Linked DNA regions of Homo sapiens: regions 1, 2 and 4 are each linked to region 3. Evidence: promoter capture Hi-C in 16 types of primary human blood cells and fetal thymus (Javierre and others, 2016). All regions are on one chromosome and are shown on one strand. The core of a region is centred on a gene start or on the middle of the fragment in contact, and the rest is flanking DNA. Distances in the headings are between cores, read along the strand shown.

Region 1 (4,805 bases), core at 304-2,803, 350 kb after region 3:
CCTTGCCTTGATCCGCCTCTGGGCCTCCCGTCTGACCTCCGGGGCCTGGGTGTTGGCCCGGATTTATGACCCTGAGCTTCTTTTTATCTCTTCGGGAAGTAAACGTTTTGGTTGGAAAGTTTTTCAATTTCCTCCTGGCCTGGACCAAACCGCTCATATTTCCAAGGGCAAGATTCCCCTCTCCTCACAGGTTCTTGTGCCCTGAAGTGTAATTAGGAGCCTCACTCCACCTGCAGACAGGCTCCTGCAAATGCTTTGATGGTGGTGACCACGACAAAGACAGCAGGCTGCTCTATGCTTACCCAAACCTCACATTTGCGGAGTAGAGTTATTGGTTTTTTTTGTTTGTTTGTTTTTAGCAGCTGTAGACACAAGCCACTCCCCTGCAGACCTCCTCCTCTGATTCCCAAAGGAAAAGACCTTTCCAAAATGTATATGAGAGGCAGGGGCACAAGTTCTTGAAGCTGGATGACCGTTGATTGCCTTCCCCTAAGTGTGCCCTACAAGACAATTACAAACTCTCTTGAGCCACAGTCTCTCAGGAGAGGGCTAGAAACCAATACTTTTACCGAGTGTCCCAGGTCCTTCTGCTGCACCCGAAAGCTTTAGAACTGCTGCTGTAGAAACTGTGCAGCAGATGGAATGGGGCAAAGCGAATCTTAGTCCTCTTGCTTTTAATCCCCTTGAAACCCTAAGCATTGTTCTCAAGAAAAGAACATGAACCCAGGACAGTTCAGCCATGTCGCATATTGGGCCTCTCACCAATAACAGTGCTCCATGGTTTTATTTATTTTTTTGCCGAAAGTTTCCATCCAATTACACACGCATCTTTTTTTCTCCTCCACAGTGTCCCATCCTTCCAACTCCCATACTCACCCTCCCAAGCAGTTTCCCTCTTAGCCTGGTCCCCAACACGATGTCATTTGAAAGTCAGGGCATCCCTTTTATACCGTCGTGAATATCTTCCAATCTGATGGGTCCTTTTATCCTGAAACGCTTCACCCGCTTTCCACCCCAGCATAACTTCACCCACCACTGAAGTACCGCCAGCCGGCTCAGGAGGGTGAGCGGCAGCTGTTGCCCTGTTTAGGGCAGGAAGTGAAGAAGAACATGATATTCAATTAAAACTGCAGGGGGAATTCAGCGAGACAGCAGGGTCTAATGGAGACTGATGGCCTGGGAGACCAGCCGGTCTGAGTTCCATTCCCATCTCTGCCACCGGCTCACAGGGGTGACCTTGGGTCTGTCACTAAAACTTTCTGGGCCTTCGTTTCATCTGAAAAATGGTAGTGATGATACCTGCATCCTCACAGGAATAGTTACGAGGATTAGGGAGATTAGAAAAATACACAGGGCTCTTTTGATCCCTTTAAAGTCAGCAGTGAAGGATGGATGGATGCAGAAAGCGGTCTTAGGCTAAGTAGAATTGGCTGCCAACAACAGGATGTGATTTGAGGTGTAATCAAAAGTCGGCCGGTGCTGAGATAGCTCCCCTAGCAGCCTGTGAGCTGCTCTGAAATCCCACTGCTGGACTAGAGAGCCAGGCTAAAACACAAGTGTGACAAGTCGCAGCAATAACATACCATCAGCCTTTGCATGAGTTAGCTGGAGTAGGTTGCTGGTTTCCCAGGAGAAAAAAAAAATGGGCCCTGAGTGATTGAGGCCCTAGAACAGGTAACTATGACTGACGGAGAGTTTAGATAGAAAGAATGCAGGAGCTCAGAGTCAGGGGAACTGTGGTTAGGGACTTTGTGGGGAGCAGAGTGGTGTGAGGAGAGTGCCAGAGCCATGGAGAATGTTAATTACAGAAGCTGATTTTCAAAGTACTACAATAGGCCTGGCGCAGTGGCTCACACCTGTAATCCTAGCACTTTGGGAGGCTGAGGCAGGCAGATCACTTGAGGCCAGGAGTTCAAGGCCAGCCTGACCAACATGGCAAAACCCTGTCTCTACTAAAAATACAAAAATTAGCTGGGCGTGGTGGCATGCACCTGTGATCCCAGCTACTCAGGAGGCTGAGGCAGGAGAATAGCTTGAACCTGGGAGGCACAGGTCACAGTGAGCCGAGATTGTGCCATTGCATTCCAGCCTTGGTGACAGAGCAAGACCCTGTCTAAAAAAAAAAAAAAAAAAACAAAACACTACAATAAATGTTAGATCATTCGTCCCAGTAAGAGCCTTCCCTAGGCAATGTCTGATGTCTAACTTTCATGTAAGACACTGTAGACATCACTTCTTACTAACCTTTGCTCTTTATAAAACTGGCGATCCTACATTATGTGTTCATGACACCAAGAAAAAGCATTGCCCTCGTGAAAGTGCTATGATGATGATGATTGCAGCTGTGCGGGCCAGTATTATCATTTCAATTTCAGTCGGTACCCATTTGTTGAGTGTCATCACACTAGGGAGGATGGTGGGGGAGGAACAGCATGGGATTTGGCGTCCTGGGGCTTGGGTTGGATTCCCAGCTCTGTCACTTTGTTCTGGAACCTTGGATACTTAAGCTTTCAGGGATCCAGTTTCAGCTGGTAAATTGGGATAACAGACCTACCTCACATGCTTTCCAGAGGATCAGATGAGGTGATGCAGTGTGAAAAAGCCATGCTGGATGTGACAGAGGGCTACACAAAGGTGAGCTGCTGTCTAAATCAGGACAGGCTGGGGTCTGCTGCTGTAACAAACAAACAGTAACCTGACATTTCAATGGCTGCATGTCAGCCACAAGTCAGCCTAGGGGGCACTCTGCTCATCAGAGTCACACAGGGACACAGGCTCCTGGAGGAGCCCTTAGCTGCCTGCTCAGGAAAAAAATATGGTAGAGTCTGCATTGGCTCTGAAAGCTTCTGCTTACCTTTCATTAGCCACAGAAAGTCACATGGCCACATCGACTTCCAGTGAGCAGGGAAGTGCCATCCTATCATGTGTCAGAAGGAGATAGAGTTGGAATATTTATTCACAGCCTATGACCCGAACAGTTGCTACTCTACAAGGCTGGATAAGATGTGGTCCTTGTCCTCAAGACGCTTACCAGAGCTCACCTCAAGATCCCTACCCAGGGGTTTTGGAAACATCTCCAGGAAAGTGTACCCTCTTCTTTCTGCCATGGATCCCTGCCCCTGCCTGCCCACCACACGGCCAGGGCCTCATCACTTCTAGCTACCACATGAATGGCTTTGCTAAAAGCAGCTAGAACACCCACATGCTTCCCTGGCCTCTGCCACTCTTGTTGTAAAATAACCTCCAAGGCCTCTTTTTCGGAGCTTGTGCCTTCCCTTTGTCCTTCACCCAGATGTTGAGGAGAGGTGCCCAGGTGGCCAGGTTCGTGACGATCCCCCAGGCTGCAGCTAATTGCACCATGCTTGAATGCAGCTGGGAGGAACAGCTCTTTGCTTGCCTGGAGCCCTTCTTGTACCAGATGTCTGCGGACCTTCCCACCGCCCAAGCTCAGGTCTTACTGCCTTTAGGGAAAGAATGAAACAGGAAAGCTTAGCTCATTTGGTGTCTCTCACCCCAGGTTAGAACCATCTTTCTGTTCTTCTGCTGGAGCAGAGACATCTCTGTAGCTCCCTTCTCCATCACCCAGAGATTCCTGGGGTGGCCTGAGACTCACCAAAGCCTTTTTCTTCCTTCCTCTTGAGTGGTGTCCCTTCTCCTTGGACACTTTAGTTGGAGTCCTGAGAGAGAGAATGAAAGAGTTTAATGCAATACTATTAGTAATAACAATAAATATAATAGGTTACCATGTGCTAGGCTCTGTTCTGAGTGCCTTGCATATATTAACTGATTAAATGTTCACAAGAAGCCTATGAAGTAGGTATTATTAATAGTCCCACTTTAGAAATGAGGAAGAAACGCGCTCAGAGAGGTTATGTAGGTTGTTGAAGGTCACACAGCTAATACGTGGCAGAGCTGCGATTTAACCAAGACCGTGTGACTACAAAGCTCATACAGATCTGTTTTTATCATGGCAATTAGGTCTACAGTGGTTGAGAGAGATGGTTGAGGTTACAGATGGCAAGGGCGCCTTTATTCCTGGTGCTGGCAAAATGGCCTTCCCGGTGTATTAGGAGGTCGTGCCTGCCCTCTGCTGGTCGTGAATGAGCATTGCCACTCAGAGGATGTGGACGAGAACCCGCCGGCAAAGCACTTCACAGGTATTTCAAAGAGAGTAAACAGGCAAATAAACTTGCAGCTTACATGCAGCAGCGGCATATTGACTATTTCTTTCCCTCTGGTTTGGTGTGTTTTACATTTGTTTTTTTCTCCTGGAAAAAAAAAAAAGAGGAATAAAAAGCAAACAGGCAGCTCTCCACCTCTGAGAACAAGCAGAAGAAAACCACAATTATGCAACTATCAAATAACAAGTCTATGTGTTTATTGTCTCATGGAGATTGTAATGTAGTACTAGATGCCCAAAATGTCATCCTAAACAGATGTAAAGGCACATTTTTGGTCGTTCATAACTAAGTTAGGGTAAAATAGTTTCCTAAGTTAATCAGGGTATTCTTCCACTATCGAACGTTGCATGCAAAAAGATTCTTCATTTAAAAAAGTTCAGCTGTTTTGAATTATCTATGTTCAAATAGAAATTTTGTGTCCCTTTCTGATTTGCTGTAGAAAGACAAAGGTGGCCATCTCTGACTAGGCTGCAGTGCAAGTCAGCCGGAGACATAGCACATAGCACATTACAGGGACCCAAGATTTTTGGGCTTATAGTAGTGACTACTCTTAAGGGGACAATCTGGCTTCTTCGAAGGCCCCCAGCCAAGAGGACCCCTTCAGACAAGTCAGTCCTGCCCACT
Region 2 (5,350 bases), core at 1,038-3,537, 350 kb before region 3:
CTCTTGTAACAGTTACTTCTTCCAGTTTTTTGGATTGGCTTTCATAGAGGAATATTTTTTCCTGTAGATGTATCTATGGTGTTGGTTAGGTAGGGCGCTTCAGCATTGATTCTGGATTTGTGTAGTAGTGTAGTCTCCATATGACTTCTTTGGCTTTAAACCCTGTCAGTGGTGTCTGTGTTTTCCTCAGAGGCTTAGGTGAATTTGTTAGTGGAGGCTGTGGTGAGGTTTAATTAGGTGTGGCAATGCCAGGTGGGCCAGTCTTCTGGCCCCAGTGGTGGCAATGTTGGGCTGAATGTCCCTGTTCTTGGGCCCTTGCGCACAGTATATGAGCACTGGTGTTAGTAGGTTCAGACAGGCTGATATTTGAGCCTCCAGGTGGCTTTTTGAGGTGCCAGTAGTGGCAGTGGTGAGTTGAGTGGGTGGGTTGGGCCCCTGAGCATTGTGCATGGTGTTGGTGATGGCAGTATAGTGGCAGGGCAACACCTGGGCTTCCAGGTAGCACACACTGTTGTTAGTGGTGGCTGTGACAGACTGGGCAGCCTGGTCTTCAGACCCCCAGGTGGTACACATAGCTGGGTGCCAGGTTTGGTGGTGGTGGCAGGCTGAGCAACCTTGTCCTCCAGCCCCTAGGGGGTGTAGATAGATATAAGCAGTGGTAGACTGGGCAGGGTGAACCCCCAGGCCTTTAGATGGCATGCTTAGGCACTGGCAGTAGGTTTTCTGGCCTGTTATTATGCCATCTGGTAGTACACACTCCTGCTTGGAGTGACCAGTGGGGCACAGCAATCCTAGGCTATATGGTAGGGTGGTGTGGTAGGGCACTTGGTTGGGGTGACATTGTCAGGTCTAGGGTGGTGTGGTAGGGCACTCAGGGGGTGACAGTGTCAGGCATTTTTTTTTTTATTATTATACTTTAAGTTTTAGGGTACATGTGCACAATGTGCAGGTTAGTTACATATGTATACATGTGCCATGCTGGTGCGCTGCACCCACTAACTCGTCATCTAGCATTAGGTATATCTCCCAATGCTATCCCTCCCCCTTCCCCCCAGTGTCAGGCATTTTGGGGCTGTCATCAGGTCCCCCTGATGGTCCAAATGGGTATAGGCTGTGGTAGGTGGGACGGGGGCAATTCCTAGGCCTTCAGATGGCGTGCTATGGTGCGGCAGGCATTCTGGGGCTGTTTGGTCTCCTTATGTGCATGTGCCTGAGGTGACTGATGGTGCAGGGGAATCCATAGGCCCCTGGGCAGTGTGATAGAGAGCACTGGGGTTGCTGGTGCCAGACCTTGTGAGCTTGTCCTTAAGGCCTCTGATGTTGTGCACAAATGCAGGCTGTGTTGGGCAGGGCAGGGTGATCAACATGTCCTGGATAGTGTCCTTGGGTGGTGGTTGCAGCAGCAGTAGTAGGCAGGGAGAGTCTATCCTCAGGGCATGTGGAAATGAACAGCTCTGCTAAGGGGAAGGCTCAATGACAGAGGTGGTGGGGGTGGTGGTGAGGGAGATTGATGCCAGTGGTAGCCATCCCAGGCAGATACATCTCAGTCTCTGGAGAGCACATGCTTTGTCTCCACTTCCCCTATTCCCTGTGGCATTGGCTGCATTGGCTAGGGTGAGCCTGTCCTCAAGGCACATGTACCACAGTCCTGCTGTTGTGGGTAGCAGGGTTGCTGTCTGTGGTACCTGCCCCAGGCAGGTGATTCTTAGGCTCTGGTCCCTGGCTGCAGCAGCAGGCAGGGAGAGCCTGCCCTTAGAGCATGTGCGGGTGTGCTGGGGCTTTGTTGCCGGGGGTAGGTGGGCAAGGTTACTCTCAGTGGCAGTGACCTGAGGCAGGTGGGTCTGGGCTTTGGCTCCCTTTGTCCTAGAGGCAGCATCCACAGGGCTCTGGATTGTCCTTTCTTCAGTGTACTGGATGCTGTGTGATCCAGAGTGCTGGGGATATTTCTGCTGTGCTGGGTCCAACTGGTGTCATGTGCTACAACCCTCTCAGTGGGTATGAGGGGATGTCATGGGGCCTCCAGGGATGTGGAGATGCAGGTACTGTTTGGCCCCAGAAAGAAAACAGACTGGTGGGGTCTGGGCTCTCAAATTCGTGCCATGCTGCAGGTGCTTGGGTTTCCAGGTGTGCGTGGAACCTATTGTGAGCTTCCTCTTTAGAAGCTTGTTTATACCAGTCTCAGCTTGTCAGGGTTAAGGGACTGTGCTATGGCTAGGATTGCAGGTATCTACAGGGAGAATGTGGATGCTGGGAATCTTTTACTCACCTTTTCCCCACACTGAGGAGCCTCTTAGGGCTCCCAGCTGGTCCTGGCTGGGCTCTGTGCCTTGCTTTCTTCAGTGCCTGTCACTTCTCTGCTGAATTCCAACATTCTCTCTTTGATGCTGTATTTGAAGTGTGATTATCTACTCATTAAGCTTTTCTTTGTAGAGGAGGTGAGTGTCTGGTGCTTCTAGTTAGCCATCTTGAAGTCCCCCATAAGCTTTCTTTTATCAGTTCATCTAGAGCTGATATTGTTCAGTGCCTTTCTCCAGGATTGTCTTCAACTCTTTTTCTTTTCAACATGAAAGCAATTCTCTGCCATTTATTTTTAAATTACATGACTAAGGTGGAGAAAGCAGGTTCAGGATACCTCAGAATGCTTGGACATTTTAGTGGGAGATATCTCCATTAGCGGATCTTAGTCATGGAAGTTAGAAGAGTTTTCAGATGTTTTATTTATTTTTGAATAGTACGTGTAGTCATTCTGATACCCAGCTATTCCAAAAAAATGGCACTTATTATTTGGAGATGAAATATATTAGTCATGTCTTTTTACTGGTGAATACTTTCTCTTAAGAACTTAAAATATTTAATTTTTATTAAAATAACTGTTCTGGGTTTATTTTTGTTTTCTTGAGCAAAAGAAAACTGTTAACTTAAGGTATTAATAATAGATATAACTAAAAAATTGAATGATTTGAAGTACATTTTATTTCTTTCCATTTTCTAAATATTTACAGAAACTTTAATAGAAACTTCTTAACATTGGTTTCTGCGCTTTTGACATGTCCCCATCATTTTTGGAGTACTTTCTTACATTTTGGCACAACAAGATGTTCCAGGGTCATCTTATACTTTCCCTAATTTGATCCTACCTACTTTTCTAGTGATCCATGGCTTCATTCAACAGGGAAGTCAATTTAGAAATTAAGATTTGGTACTCTGGTTATATTCATTGCTGTTGGGTGTCATTGCTTCTAGCCTCAAAAGACAAAGCTAGGAGGGAGATAAACCAATCCAAAAATTAAAATAAGTAAAAAATTATGAGTTCATTTGGATACATCTAATTCTAATCCAACTTTCTAGCCTTTTCCCGTTCCATATTCGTAATTCACTTCTCCAACAGTGAAGAACATGGCTTTTAACATTATAATTATATTTACTCATTTGTTCAGTGTTACAGTACATGGAAAGTAGTTTCAGAATTGCTACACCCAAAGCTCTTGTTGTAGGGTGAATTCTAAGATGGCTCCTAAGAGTCCCTGCACTTCTCCTTGAATGTAGTTTTGAACTATAAGTATAATGGGCTAGTCACTCCTATGATTACATTGTGTGACACAATGGACTTTAAGAAAGAAAATTGTCTTCAGTGGATCCAGCCTCATCAGGTGAGCACTTAAAAGCAGTTGGGCTCTTCCTGGCAAAAGGTATTCTAAGTGTAGGAGGGACTTGATGTCAGGGAGATTCTCTGCTGCTGGTTTTGAAGATGAAACCAGAACTTGTGAATGATGAATTTGAATATATAGGCAAGGAGATTTCTAAGCAAAATGTTGAAGGTGCTGCCTGGTTTCTTCTTGCTCCGTATAGTAAAATATGAGAAAACCAAGGGAAGTTTTGTTAAAAGGGAACCAAGACTAGATGATTTAGTTAATTTTTAGCCTATCAAGATGACAAAGGATGCTAACATATAGCAATAACTTCTGAAAGCATGGTATGGAGAAAGCCAGGGATGTGGCTGTATAATAACTTCAGAAAGATCAAAAGATGAGAGTATTCAGTCACACTGGACTCTTCCAAGAAATTAAGGGCGTGCCTCACAGATCTTCTTAACCAAACCAGGTGATCTCTAGGAAACTTAAGAGTATTGCTCCTTAACAAGTTAAACAACAGCTATAGATAAAGAACAGGTTGTTTTGCAAAGATTTGTGGGTTTGGCTTTCATCATTACTTAATATGTTTGTTTTTTACAGAACTGCATTAATTTTCTATTGCTCTGTAACAAATTACCAAAAACCAGGGACTTAGGACACCCCCAGTTTATTACCTAACAGCTGTTTAGGTCAGAAGTCTGTCACAATGTGGCTACATTTCTCTGCTGAGGGTCTTACAGACTGAAATCAGGGTGTCAGTAAGACTGCACGCTACTAGGTCAGCATTCCTAATGCATTCCTTGCCACATAGTTCCCTCCATCTTCAGGGTCAGCAAAGGAGAATCTTTCTCATGTTGCATCTAATGGAGATTGCACATAGGGTCTAGAAAGCTAAGAGTAGCCCCAGCTGACAGGCAGCAAGCAAATAGGGATCACAGTTCTACAACCACAAGGAACTTGTATTGTGCCAGCAACCAGAATAAACTTAGAAGCAGATTATTTCCCAGAACCTCTAGAAAATAGTACAGTTCTACTAACATCCTGATTTCAGTCTGTGAGATCCTGAGCAGAGAATCTAGCTACGTTGTGCCAGACTTCTGACCTACGCAGCTGTTAGGTAATAAATCGGGGGTGTACTAAGTCCCTAGGTTTTTGGTAATTTGTTACAGAGCAATAGAAAACTAATGCAGTTCTGTAAAAACCAAACATATTAAGTAATGATGAAAGTCCTTGAGGAGTTGTTAGGGATTGTGATCAAACAAAGAGCAGGAGTTAGCTTTTGGGTAGGAGGAAGGAATACTTTTTTTTTTTTTTTTTGAGATGGAGTCTCACTCTGTCGCGCAGTGGCGTGATCTCTGCTCACTGCAACCTCTGTCTCCTCGGTTCTAGCAATTCTCCTGCCTCAGCCTTCCAAGTAGCTGGGATTACAGGTGCCCACCACCATGCCTGGCTGATTTTTGTATTTTTATTAGAGATGAGGTTTCATCATGTTGGCCAGGCTGGTCTCAAACTCCTGACCTCAAATGATCCACCCACCTTGGCCTCCCAAAGTGCTGGGATTACAGGTGTGAGCCACCACGTCTGGCTGGAGTACTTTTGCACTGGGAATGGAAGGGATAAGAATGAGCTCATATGCAGCTGTATTTACAAGTGGTAGCTTTAGATAGGAAATGAATAATGCCTCCATCTATTAGCAGAGACATTTCCTAGTTTTGTAT
Region 3 (5,215 bases), core at 2,116-4,615:
TCGCGGGCTGGTTTGCAAACTCGGGAAAAAGCTAGGTTCTGGGTCGCGATGTGCAGACACAGGAAAACTGCACCAGGCCATGCAAAATGAGCCCAGAAAGGTACTTTGGCAGCTAGGACCTGGGGAACGCGAGCTTCCCCCCTCAAGCCCCCCGCCGGTGCCAGCTCCCGGGTGCGTGCGAAATGGCTGGCGGTCCGACCGGAGGAGCATGGAGGCGCGGGGTTAATGCGCCATTCCAAATCGCGGTGCCCGCCAGCAGGAAGCCACAGAGGCACTAGATTTCCCTTCCGTCTTAAGAGGGTTTTCCCTTTTTTCCTGCTTGGCCGACGGAGGGCTTTTTAAATTGGACGTGGAGATCCTCAATTAGAAGTGTGGCGAAGCTGGCAAAAGACTACACAGTGGAAAACTCCCCGCGTCGCCAGAGGAGGCTCCCGGCTGCGGTTCCCGCCCTCGGCCGAGCGCCGCCAGCGCCCGGATCGAGCTCCCCTCTTCCCCCGGGACAGGGAGGGCGCATTCTTCCCTCTGAGCGCCGCCGGGACCGGCTCCAGTCCGAGGGGCTCTTTCGTTCTCGGTATTTGCTGGGCGGGGGAAAAGGGGGGAGGTTGGGGGACTCGGCACACACAGCGTCTACTAGGACGTTTTTCTTAGAGTCCGTGTGGGCTCCACCCCTCGGCTTCTCAGTTTGTCTCTCTATCGCTTTCCCAAAACACATCTACATCTGCCCGACGCGCTTCTCCTCAACCATGGGCCTTTGCCCGCGGTGCAAACTGCTTTACGCGCCGCCACGTGCGAGAACCAAGCTCTGCTCCTCAAGTGACGGGGGCTCTGCTCTGCCAGGTGACCGCGCACCATTTCTCGTGCCTGGCAAGCTGGTCCCCTTCTGGGTCCGGGACCACCACGTCCCGGCAGGGCAAAAGCAGCAGGCCGTGGGCGCCGGCACCTGTGGGTCCCCAGGCCTGGGGAGGCAAGGACGCCCAGGAAAGCCACAGAAGTGCTCGCAGAAGCAGCCGCTCGCCGCGAGGCACTTCTGAGTTCCCGGCAGCAGGGGGCACCAGAAACCGTCTGAGCCGTGTCGCGCCCACGCGGCCCGGAGGCTGTGTTATCATTTTAGTTATAAAACCGGAGAACCACCACTCCCTCTACGAGCCTCCCGAAATCCCATTAGCCCGGGAACCTGTGGAGGTCCTTACTGGCATCTCTGCTTTTCAGGCTCCCACCCCTCCATTCTCGCTGGTTTTCCTCTCCCCACTTCACCTGAGCGGGTTTCTTGGCAACCTGCTTTCAGACCATCCCTCACCCCTTCCACGCGTCACCGTGACAGATTCGCAGGAGGCAGCGCTCCCGCCGTCAGTGCCCCCGCACCTTCTTGTGCCTGGCAGGCTGGGAGGTTTGTTTGGGCTTTGCCTTCAAGATCCAGGTCTCAGAGAGAGAAAAAGGAGGCGGTGGGGCGGGGAGACGGGTTTGCTATAAACTCGGTTTTTTTTTTTTTTTTTTTGGCGGGGGGAGGTAGAGACAGAAATTGCTGGAAGATCTATTGCTTTTCTTAACTATGCTTCGTGTCCTTGACTGACAGAGGACTTATTCTCCCCTCAACCCCCCATAACTGCGGGGCCCAAGATGAGGGAAGGAAAAAGAATTTGGGACACTTCTCGCAGGCAAACTGGGAAAGCGGTCTGTTTAAAGGGCCAGGTTCCAGGCCCGAGAGCACCCGAATTGCTAGCGGGAAAGGGCTAGGGACACGGCGGACTTCCCAGAGATCGGACACTTGTTACTTGTTGAAAAGGCGCCACCTTCCCTGACAAAGCGAAGGCGCAGCGAAACAGTACGAGTTTGGTCGAGGCCGGCTTTGACGGCTTTGCGGGACTGGGTGCGTGAATGAGGTTGGAAGAAACATCTCTTCCTTGAAATACCTAAGCATATATTCCAAACACTGAGCAAGAGTCGAGCGCGTTCTAACATCTCCGCAGCAGGGGCCGGAAGAGTTGCCTTTGTCCCCGCCTATGAGCAGAAGGGTCGCGAGCTCTGGGATGGGTAAGCCCCCCGGGGGCGCGCACATGGGTCCTGGCGGCGGATTCTACCAAAGCCGAAACTAGCTGGGCCCCAGGAAGCTGGCGGGAACCCGCGAAAGTCCGTTTCCAGCCCGAAGAGGGTTCGTTTTTCTTCGTTGGGGCAGGAAACAAACCACCAGTGCGGAATTAGCCTCGAGGTGGTGTAAAGTAGTGGCAGTGGTGGTGGGGTGTTTTTGGAAGGCGGCACAGAGTACAGGAGAAAAAGGGGTCATTAAAATAATAACCTCAATGGCCTAGTGGAGTCTCAAGAATACGTTCGAGACAGAGATTTGAATCCAGGACTGGCAAGAAAGCCCCTCTCCTAACCTCGACGGGGATGGTTAGTTGGGGTGGAGGGCGTTAGGAACGTGCAGGCAACCGGGTGAGGAATGTAGCTTTGCCAGACCTCGCCCGGAGGAGGTGAGCCCTCCATTTTTAGGTTCTCAGCACCTTTGCAGCAGCCCCTCCCCCGGCCTGCGCTTTTCCTTGGCACAGATCAAAACAAGCTCAATAGTAAGTTGCACTCTTGGCAATGATAGTATCTCTGCACGTCCAGAGAGGACACATTTCGACGGCGGTGGGTTCGAAGATGACCCAAGCCCTGAATCGTTCTGTGACTTGACGGAAGAGCACCTGGCCGAGTCGGGGAAGGAAACTGCCCCTCTTGGGCATTCCGGGTCCAGGCGCATCTGGGGCTCCACAGATCTTTGCCCACGTGGAAAAGGCAACATGCCCCTCCGAAAGGCCGGCCTCTCTCCGGTTCTACTTTTCTCTCTCCTCGCATAGCTTAGGTTCCCTCTAGTCTTTCCACTTTCTACTCTCACCGTTTGCTCTGGGGTCCAGACGCACCCCTCTGACTAGGGCGCCCTTCAGCCGGCCGCACCCACCCGCGACGCAGGCACCACCCGCTCCCTGCTCCCCGGCCCGCTCCCTCACTTACCTCGGATCGGGTCTCCGCAGACCCTAGGTTGGACATTAACTCCAGGTGCCCCAAGTCCCAGCCAGGAGACCCATCCGGGCTGATGGCTGGAGCGCGGAGCCCCGCCCAACAGGTCAGGGGCAAGAGTTCGCAATCCTGGGGTCGCGCGGGGCAGCAAGGGCGCGCTGGAGGCGGCGGCCAAGACTCCCGCCGCCGCCGCCGCCAACAGGGCGAGGGCTGCCGGCAACTCTCCCGCCGGGCCCCCGCACCCCCAGAAGCCGAGGTCCGAGCAGCCGCCGCTGCTTTGGGTGGGGGGCTGACAGGGCTGCGCGCGTCGCGCTCTTGGCTGGGGCTGCGCGGGCCCGGGGCGCTGCGGGCGGCTCAGCGGCAGCTGCCGCGCTCTGCGCCTCCTCTGGGCGCACTGCCTGGGAGCACGAGACTGGTTTGTCTGATGCTGCTGCCGGAGCTGAGGTCTTGCCTGGAGATCCGAACGAGACACCACGTCAACCGGCGCGGGGAGTCCCGTGAAGACATGAGGGCGCCAGGAGCGCAGGCTGGTCTTCTAGAGCCCGGGCTGGGGGTCCGGGGTCCGGGGTGGGGGAGGGGAGGCGCGGGGCCCCGGGAGGGAGGGGTCGGGAGGCGTCGGCTGGGCCTGGCGGTGGGGGAGGAGAGGAGAGCAGCGAGGAGGCCCTGGAGTTCCCGAGGCGGGGGGCCGGGGTGCGAGTGGGCGACGCGAGGCGCCCCTCCCTGGGCTGCAGGGAGAGCGCTGAGAGCGCGGAGACGCCGCGGGGCTAGCGCCTTCTCCTCTCCGGGTGGATCAAAAATCGAGAGGAATGTGCGGCGCTCTGCGCGGGCCAGCCGAAAGGGGCAATCCGAACTTGACCGCGGCGCCCGCGCCGGGCTTTGCCCCCGCGCGCCGCACTGGGAGGGTGGCGCTCTGCCGGTGCAGGGCAGCGCCGGGCTTTCCTCGCGCCTGTCGAAGGCCGGCCTTCCCGCTCGGGTGTCTCGCCCTCTCGCTTCTCCGCAGGGCAGGAGGCAGTGGCGAGAAAAGGAGCTGCCGGCCGGAGTTCTAGCACCGAGAAGGAGAGGTGCGGAGCGGCCGGGTGAGGGAAGCCGAGTATTTGCCAGGGGACGCTGCGAGTGGGGATGAATTTATAGGGCTCTCACTCCGTGACGTGCCCTCCAGTGGCTTTTCTGATTCGCTTTCTGACCTAAACACACATTAGTTTAGTCCCCATGCTAAGGCCAACACGGTCTCCAAATATCTGCTGGCTGAAGTCAGAGGCTTTGCATATCATGTATTACATGGCAGGCAATGAAGAAGGCTTCTGAGGCTGGCCGGCTCCTCAGTCCTAGGCTCCATTTTCATGCTGTTGTAATCTAATACCAGACATGGGGCAGGCACATACATTCAAAATCCCAATTCCAGAGGCGTAAGATCACTTTATCAGGAACGGGTTAGGGGAGGTTGAGCTAAACCTGCTTTTATCCAGATTTTCGAAAATGCAGATGGGAAACTTCAGCAAGCGCCCACTTGGATGCTGAGTTTCCAGCGATCAGGGGCCCGGCCCCCATTCCAGAGCTCTGTGGATGGGAGAGGTGAGACCTTCTGGGCATTCCTTTTGTTGGTTAGTTCACCACCAGAAGCTGCCTGAGCCTTCTTTTGTAGAGGACAGGAGGAGGGCAAGTCCTTACACACCCTGTGCATGGCTATAACCATAAATACATTTCATTCACATGGGGCATGGAATTGGCTGTACCTCTAAAATAATGTACTAAATAGGGCATGTCTTTGCTAAGCAGAAACCTGTTTTCCGGAAGCCATTGGACCTGAATTCAGTGGGACCTCTTTTATTTTATTAGCTGGGGCCAGGGAAAGTGTAAACAGGCTCAGTTTACGTCCATGTACCTCTTATTTTATGACTCATCCGGTTGTTGGGGAGTATGTGTTCTTCAAGTAGCTGATACAGACAATAGGCAGGGGAAATGCGTGTGGCAGTGTGGGGGGAAGATCATGTATTATTAAACTTCTTAAAAGTCAAAGATCAGCTACTTTGCAGGTTTGTCAGTGAAGCGAGTGTGGGAGGAAAATTGTTCTTACTAACGTTGCTGTGATTTAAGATTAAGCGAAGTGAAAATCGAGTCATCAAAACATACCTTAGCTGAAATTAGGATGCTCTCTGGAGTTCTGCAGAAAATGACATTTCCCTCTTTGATAGATTTATGGTAGAAATGTAGTTAGATTCAG
Region 4 (5,055 bases), core at 2,474-4,973, 320 kb after region 3:
GTGTTCTCACTGTTCCACTTCCACTTATGAGTGAGAACATGCAGTGTTTGGTTTTCTGTTCCTGTGTTAGCTTGCTGAGAATAATGGAGAAACCCTCAATCTTATTGGCTTATAGAGCCAGAAGACAGGGCAACCAGAGCCATGAGAAATTAAGGATGTCCTTGGAGAGAGCCAGAAAGGGAGAGCTACAAATTCTGTGTATAAACTCTGCTCAGATTTCTGGCTAACATCTGATTTATGAATGCACAGAACAGACTCTAAAAGTCCCTTCTAAAGCCAAAGGAACGGAGCTGAGATTTGAGGTGCCAGCCAAGTGATAGAGTTTACAGCTGGAATCCACCCAAGTTAATTGCCTGCTAAAACAAAAAAGTTTACAGCTTTGGGGAAAATACAACAGAATGTAGAGTATCTAGAACTTGACACTACAATGTTCAAGATACAAGCAAAATTACCTGACTTATAAAGAAACAAGCATGTGACCCATTCTTAAGAGAAAGAGGGATTTTAAGACAGCTCAGATGTTGGACTTAGCCAACAAAGGTTTAAAGCCGTGACTATAAATATGTTATGTGATATTAAGAAAAGCATATTCAAAATTAGTGAAAAGATAGGATATCTCAGCAGATAAATAGAAACCATAAAAGGGAATCAAAGCAACAGTATCTGAAATAAAACACTTATTGAAGGAAATTCAGAGCCATATGGAGATGACAGAGGAAAGAACCCATGAATTGAAAGATAGATCAATAGAAACTATCCAATCTGAAGTAAAAAGAGAAAAAATAGAGAAGAAAATGAAGAGGCTTGAGAACCTAAAGAACAATACCGAAAGATTTAACACATGTGTAACCAGAGTCTCACAGAGTGGAGAGATAATGGCTGAAAAAAATATTTGAAGAAAAACTGCCTGGAGAGTTCCTAACTTTGACAAAAGTAGAAAGTGTCCAGATTTACCCAGCTAAGCTCAAGTGGCATAAGCACAAAGAAAACTAAGCCTAGGCACATCAGCCTTCTGGAAGTTAAAGATAAAGGGAAAATCTTGAAAACGACTAGAGGAAAGTGTCACGTTATATACAAGAAAATAATGCTTTGAATGAATAATGAATGAATAAATTTTCTGCCCTCTTCTCAGAAACTTGAAGGCAAGAGCACAATGAGACAAAAATCTTTAAAGTACTGAAAGAAAAACAACCACTGCAACCAACACCAATCAAGCCAGATATCTATATCCAGTGAAATATTCTTTGAGAATGTAAGTGTAATAAAGATAATTTCAGATCAAAGAAAACAAAGGTGATTTGTCATCAACAGATCTGCTCTACAGAAATGAAGGAAAGGAGCTCATTAGACAGGAGGGAAATGATACCAGAGGCAAACCTCGATCTTTAGGAATGAATGAAAAGCATCAGAAATGGTAAATATTTGGGTAAATATAAAAAGTTGTCTTCTCCTAATTTCTTTAAAAGACATATGACTGTTTAAAGCAAAAATTACATCATTTTAACATTGTCTTGTGAGATGTATAACATAGATAGGCAAATAGATATGACAAATATATCATAAAGTACAGAGTGGGAGAAAATTGACCTATAGACAGTTGTAATGTACAATAGTAACTCTAAGGCGTTACTCTGCAGTAGCTCTGCAGACCCATGTCTATGCTGTAACCCTACATAGATCAGCTGATCTTGTATCCTGAATTAGGCTGAACTAAATTATTATTATGATTATTATTTGAGACAGAGTCTTGCTCTGTCGCCCAGGCTGGAGTGCAATGGCGTGATCTCAGCTCACTGCAACCTCCGCCTCTGGGTTCAAACAATTCTCCTGCCTCAGCCTCCTGAGTAGCTGGGATTACAGGCACGCACCACCATGCCCAGATAATTTTTGTATTTTTAGTAGAGACAAGGTTTCACCATATTGGCCATGCTGGTCTCGAACTCCTGACCTCATGAAATAGTAATAATATGCATCTTAGTCCATGGAGAAACCATTTAAAACTATAATAATGCAAACAGGTACAGCTAAAAAGTCTGCAGAGAAATTGAGATAGAATTCTAGAAAAATATAAAGTTTCCACAATAACCCAAAACAAGATGAAAACTTACATGTATAGAAAGTTTACCATGAGGATATTAGGAAAGTAATTAAAATTTTCAATTAAAATGTTACCATGACAAAACGGTTTCATAGTTGATTTCTAATGAACTTATTTTAAAATAAGAGATAATTGTAACAGTATTTACATTCTTTGTGACTTCAGAAAAAGAAGAAAATCTCCCTGTAAAGTCAGCACAGTTTCCACACAGTTGATTTCAGGGTTCAGCCATCAATCTTATGGGGCTGATTTTTAGCGGAGCTGATCTTTCTTGTGTAATCCTGTCCTTTTTGCTATTTTGAAGATTCACGTGCTCACTTCACCTCTCCCTAAAATTCCCACAACAATTAGCATTTGGAAATATGGGGATCACTAGTCTGATATCTCAGTTTTGAAAAGTTATTTATCCCTAGAATAACTGATAACTTTGTTTGTCAGGTGGAAAGGGAGGGAAGGAGGGAGGACAGAAGGAGAGAATTAATAGACCCCAATCGCCTGATATGTGCCAGCCAATTCTCAAGTGTTCTTCAACACCCCTAGGAGATCATCAATATTACTCCCCCTTTTATAGACTCTGAGAATCAGAAATGCTTTAAAAAATACAGGGGGCCGGGCACAGTGGCTCGCGCCTGTAATCCCAACACTTTGGGAGGCTGAGACGGGCGGATCACGAGGTCAAGAGATGGAGACCATTGGTCAACATGGTGAAACCCCGTCTCTACTAAAAACACAAAAATAAGCTGGGCATGGTGGCATGTACCTGTAGTCCCAGCTACTTGGGAGGCTGAGGCAGGAGAATGGCGTGAACCAGGGAGGCAGAGGTTTCATTGAGCCGAGATTGCGCCACTGCACTCCAGCCTGGGCAACAGAGCAAGACTCTGTCTCAAAGCAAAAACAAACAGGAAAAAAGCTCCCTCCTTCTGTGAGGTCGTGTAGTTAATAATGGCAGGTGTGAGATTTGGAGGTTGAGCTCTCTGATTTCAGGGCATGTTGTTTTCTGTTTCTTCCAACTGCCGGATGGATTTTTTTGAAATACTTAATGGGAAATTTTCTCTCTTTGTATTCAGTTTCTTCTAGAAACTCGAAAAGGCGCGTCTTTTTTTCAGTCCTGGTGTAGCATCTTCCCTTCTTCCAAGAGATCTGCCCTTTCCTGTTAGCATCATCATGAGAGTAACAAGCAGCTGAATTTTCTAAGAAGGGAGACTTGCTCTTCTGTAATGACCTAGAGCTTACTTCCCTCTCTGTGCCTTCCAGTCCCTTGTCTTTAATCTCATCTCTGGCTCTCACTAAGGTGGAATTTAGAGTCACTAACACCTTTGTTTTCATTCAACAACACCAACGATGAATTCGTAAGTTAACTATTTTTTGTGCCAAGTGACAGTGGGAAGCTTGGGAATGCCATGCTGTATTTCTTGGCCTCCTGGTGCTTCCATTCTAGTAGAATTAAATACTGTAACACAGGGGTTCTCAGCCCTGGCTACATGGTAGAAACACTTGGCAAAGTTTTTGTTTTTGTTTTTTGTTAATGCCTGGGCTCCTCCCAGAGGTTCTAATTTTTTGGGTCTGGGGTGAGGGCTGGGTATCAGCATTCTTTAACCTTCCCCTACCTCCCAACCCGCAAGACAATTCCAATGGGCAGCTTGGATTAGTAGCTACTGACGTAATGTGCTTCCCATCAAAGGAATTAATAAAAGGATGTTTGGGACAGTTGCTAAAGGAATATATCCTGAATGTGGAATTTCAGATATTATGGCTTTTAGATAAAGGAGATACTCTGGAGCTGAACGTCCTTCCCACCATCCCTCAAGTTCACGCCATGTAGCAGGTGAAAGCTCTGTCGATTGCTAAAGTCAACTTGGCCCCAAAGCTTTCTGGATCAAAATTCCCCATGTATCCTGCCTGTAGATTATATGGTATCATTAGTTACCATTCACTAAGTGCTACCTGAACGTTACCCTACTGAATTCTCACAGTGATCTTGTGAGGCAAGCTTTCTGAGTTTCGTTTTACAAATGAAGTCTCAGGGACGGTCAGCAGCAGCTGGAGGTCACATAGCTAGAAAGTGAGACGGCCAGTGCCAGTCATCAGCTCTTACTCATGACACTGCATCCCAGAGGCCAAGCCTGTGGTGTTGAGCAGATTAGTTTGAGAAAGAGGCCAAGAGAAATCATAATTCAGTCTCAGACCTGCTCAGCCCATAGGCTCTGCAGACCCATGTCTATGCTGTAACCCAACTTAGATCAGCTGGTCTTATATCCTGAATTAGGCTAAGCTAAATTATTATTATTATTATTATTATTATTATTATTATTATTATTATTATTGTTTGAGACAGTCTCACTCTGTTGCCCAGGCTGGAGTGCAATGGTGCAATCTCAGCTCACTGCAACCTCTGCCTCCCGGGTTCAAGCGATTCTTCTGCCTCAGCCTCCTGAGTAGCTGGGATTACAGGCCCACAGCACCACGCCCGGCTAATTTTTGTATTTTTAGTAGAGACAAGGTTTCACCATATTGGCCATGCTGGTCTCGAACTCCTGACCTCATGATCTGCCTACCTCGGCTTCCCAAAGTGCTGAGATTACAGGCGTGAGCCATCGTGCCTGGCCAGCTGAGCTAAATTACATGTAATTCCCTTTGTTCCTTCTCAGCGTTGTCACTCTTAGAACACAGCACTATCTCTATTCTTAACTATCTTTTCAAAAACAAGAGTGAAAGAAAGACTTTGTTCTTCACATCTTCCTTTCCCCCTTTTGCCTCGTCTATCAAGTCAGCCATAGGTATTTAGGGCTAGGCAAAACTGGGAAGTGACTGATACATGTTTTCATCATCATTACCCTCTCCCTTCTGTATTTTCTTCCCCTTTGTGGAATCTAGACCTTTAGCCTTCTTAACCGAAACTTTCTCAGAAAGGATAGGATAAATTCATTACACTACAGTGTGAATGACTGATAGGATTT

Evidence for each region. Contacts are between HindIII fragments. The CHiCAGO score rates a contact against its expected background, and 5 or more counts as called.
Region 1: a contact is called between a fragment that was not itself captured here and the fragment with the promoter of GDNF-AS1 in region 3, in 8 of 17 cell types (M0 macrophages, M1 macrophages, M2 macrophages and 5 more). The highest score is 35.3, in M0 macrophages.
Region 2: a contact is called between a fragment that was not itself captured here and the fragment with the promoter of GDNF-AS1 in region 3, in 1 of 17 cell types (megakaryocytes). The highest score is 6.2, in megakaryocytes.
Region 4: a contact is called between a fragment that was not itself captured here and the fragment with the promoter of GDNF-AS1 in region 3, in 1 of 17 cell types (M0 macrophages). The highest score is 5.9, in M0 macrophages.

Annotation. Positions count from the first base shown.
Region 1 is chr5:38,189,212-38,194,016 of GRCh38, forward strand. No RefSeq gene overlaps it. Among named protein-coding and RNA genes, the nearest start is that of LINC02119, 43 kb to the left of the region's middle. The HindIII fragment of the contact is 1,904 bases long and covers 602-2,505 here.
Region 2 is chr5:37,488,900-37,494,249 of GRCh38, forward strand. All of the region lies in intron 8 of WDR70 (WD repeat domain 70), which reads left to right. Among named protein-coding and RNA genes, the nearest start is that of WDR70, 110 kb to the left of the region's middle. The HindIII fragment of the contact is 255 bases long and covers 2,161-2,415 here.
Region 3 is chr5:37,836,519-37,841,733 of GRCh38, forward strand. GDNF-AS1 (GDNF antisense RNA 1) reads left to right here and starts at 3,366. Exons shown (of 4, transcript NR_145476.1): 1 at 3,366-3,520. It overlaps GDNF (glial cell derived neurotrophic factor), which reads right to left and starts at 3,523. Exons shown (of 3, transcript NM_000514.4): 1 at 2,989-3,523. RefSeq lists enhancers at 1-568, 920-989, 2,447-3,384. The HindIII fragment of the contact is 7,909 bases long and covers 1-5,215 here.
Region 4 is chr5:38,158,643-38,163,697 of GRCh38, forward strand. The region is part of intron 2 of LINC02107 (long intergenic non-protein coding RNA 2107); the gene reads left to right. Among named protein-coding and RNA genes, the nearest start is that of LINC02119, 13 kb to the left of the region's middle. The HindIII fragment of the contact is 479 bases long and covers 3,485-3,963 here.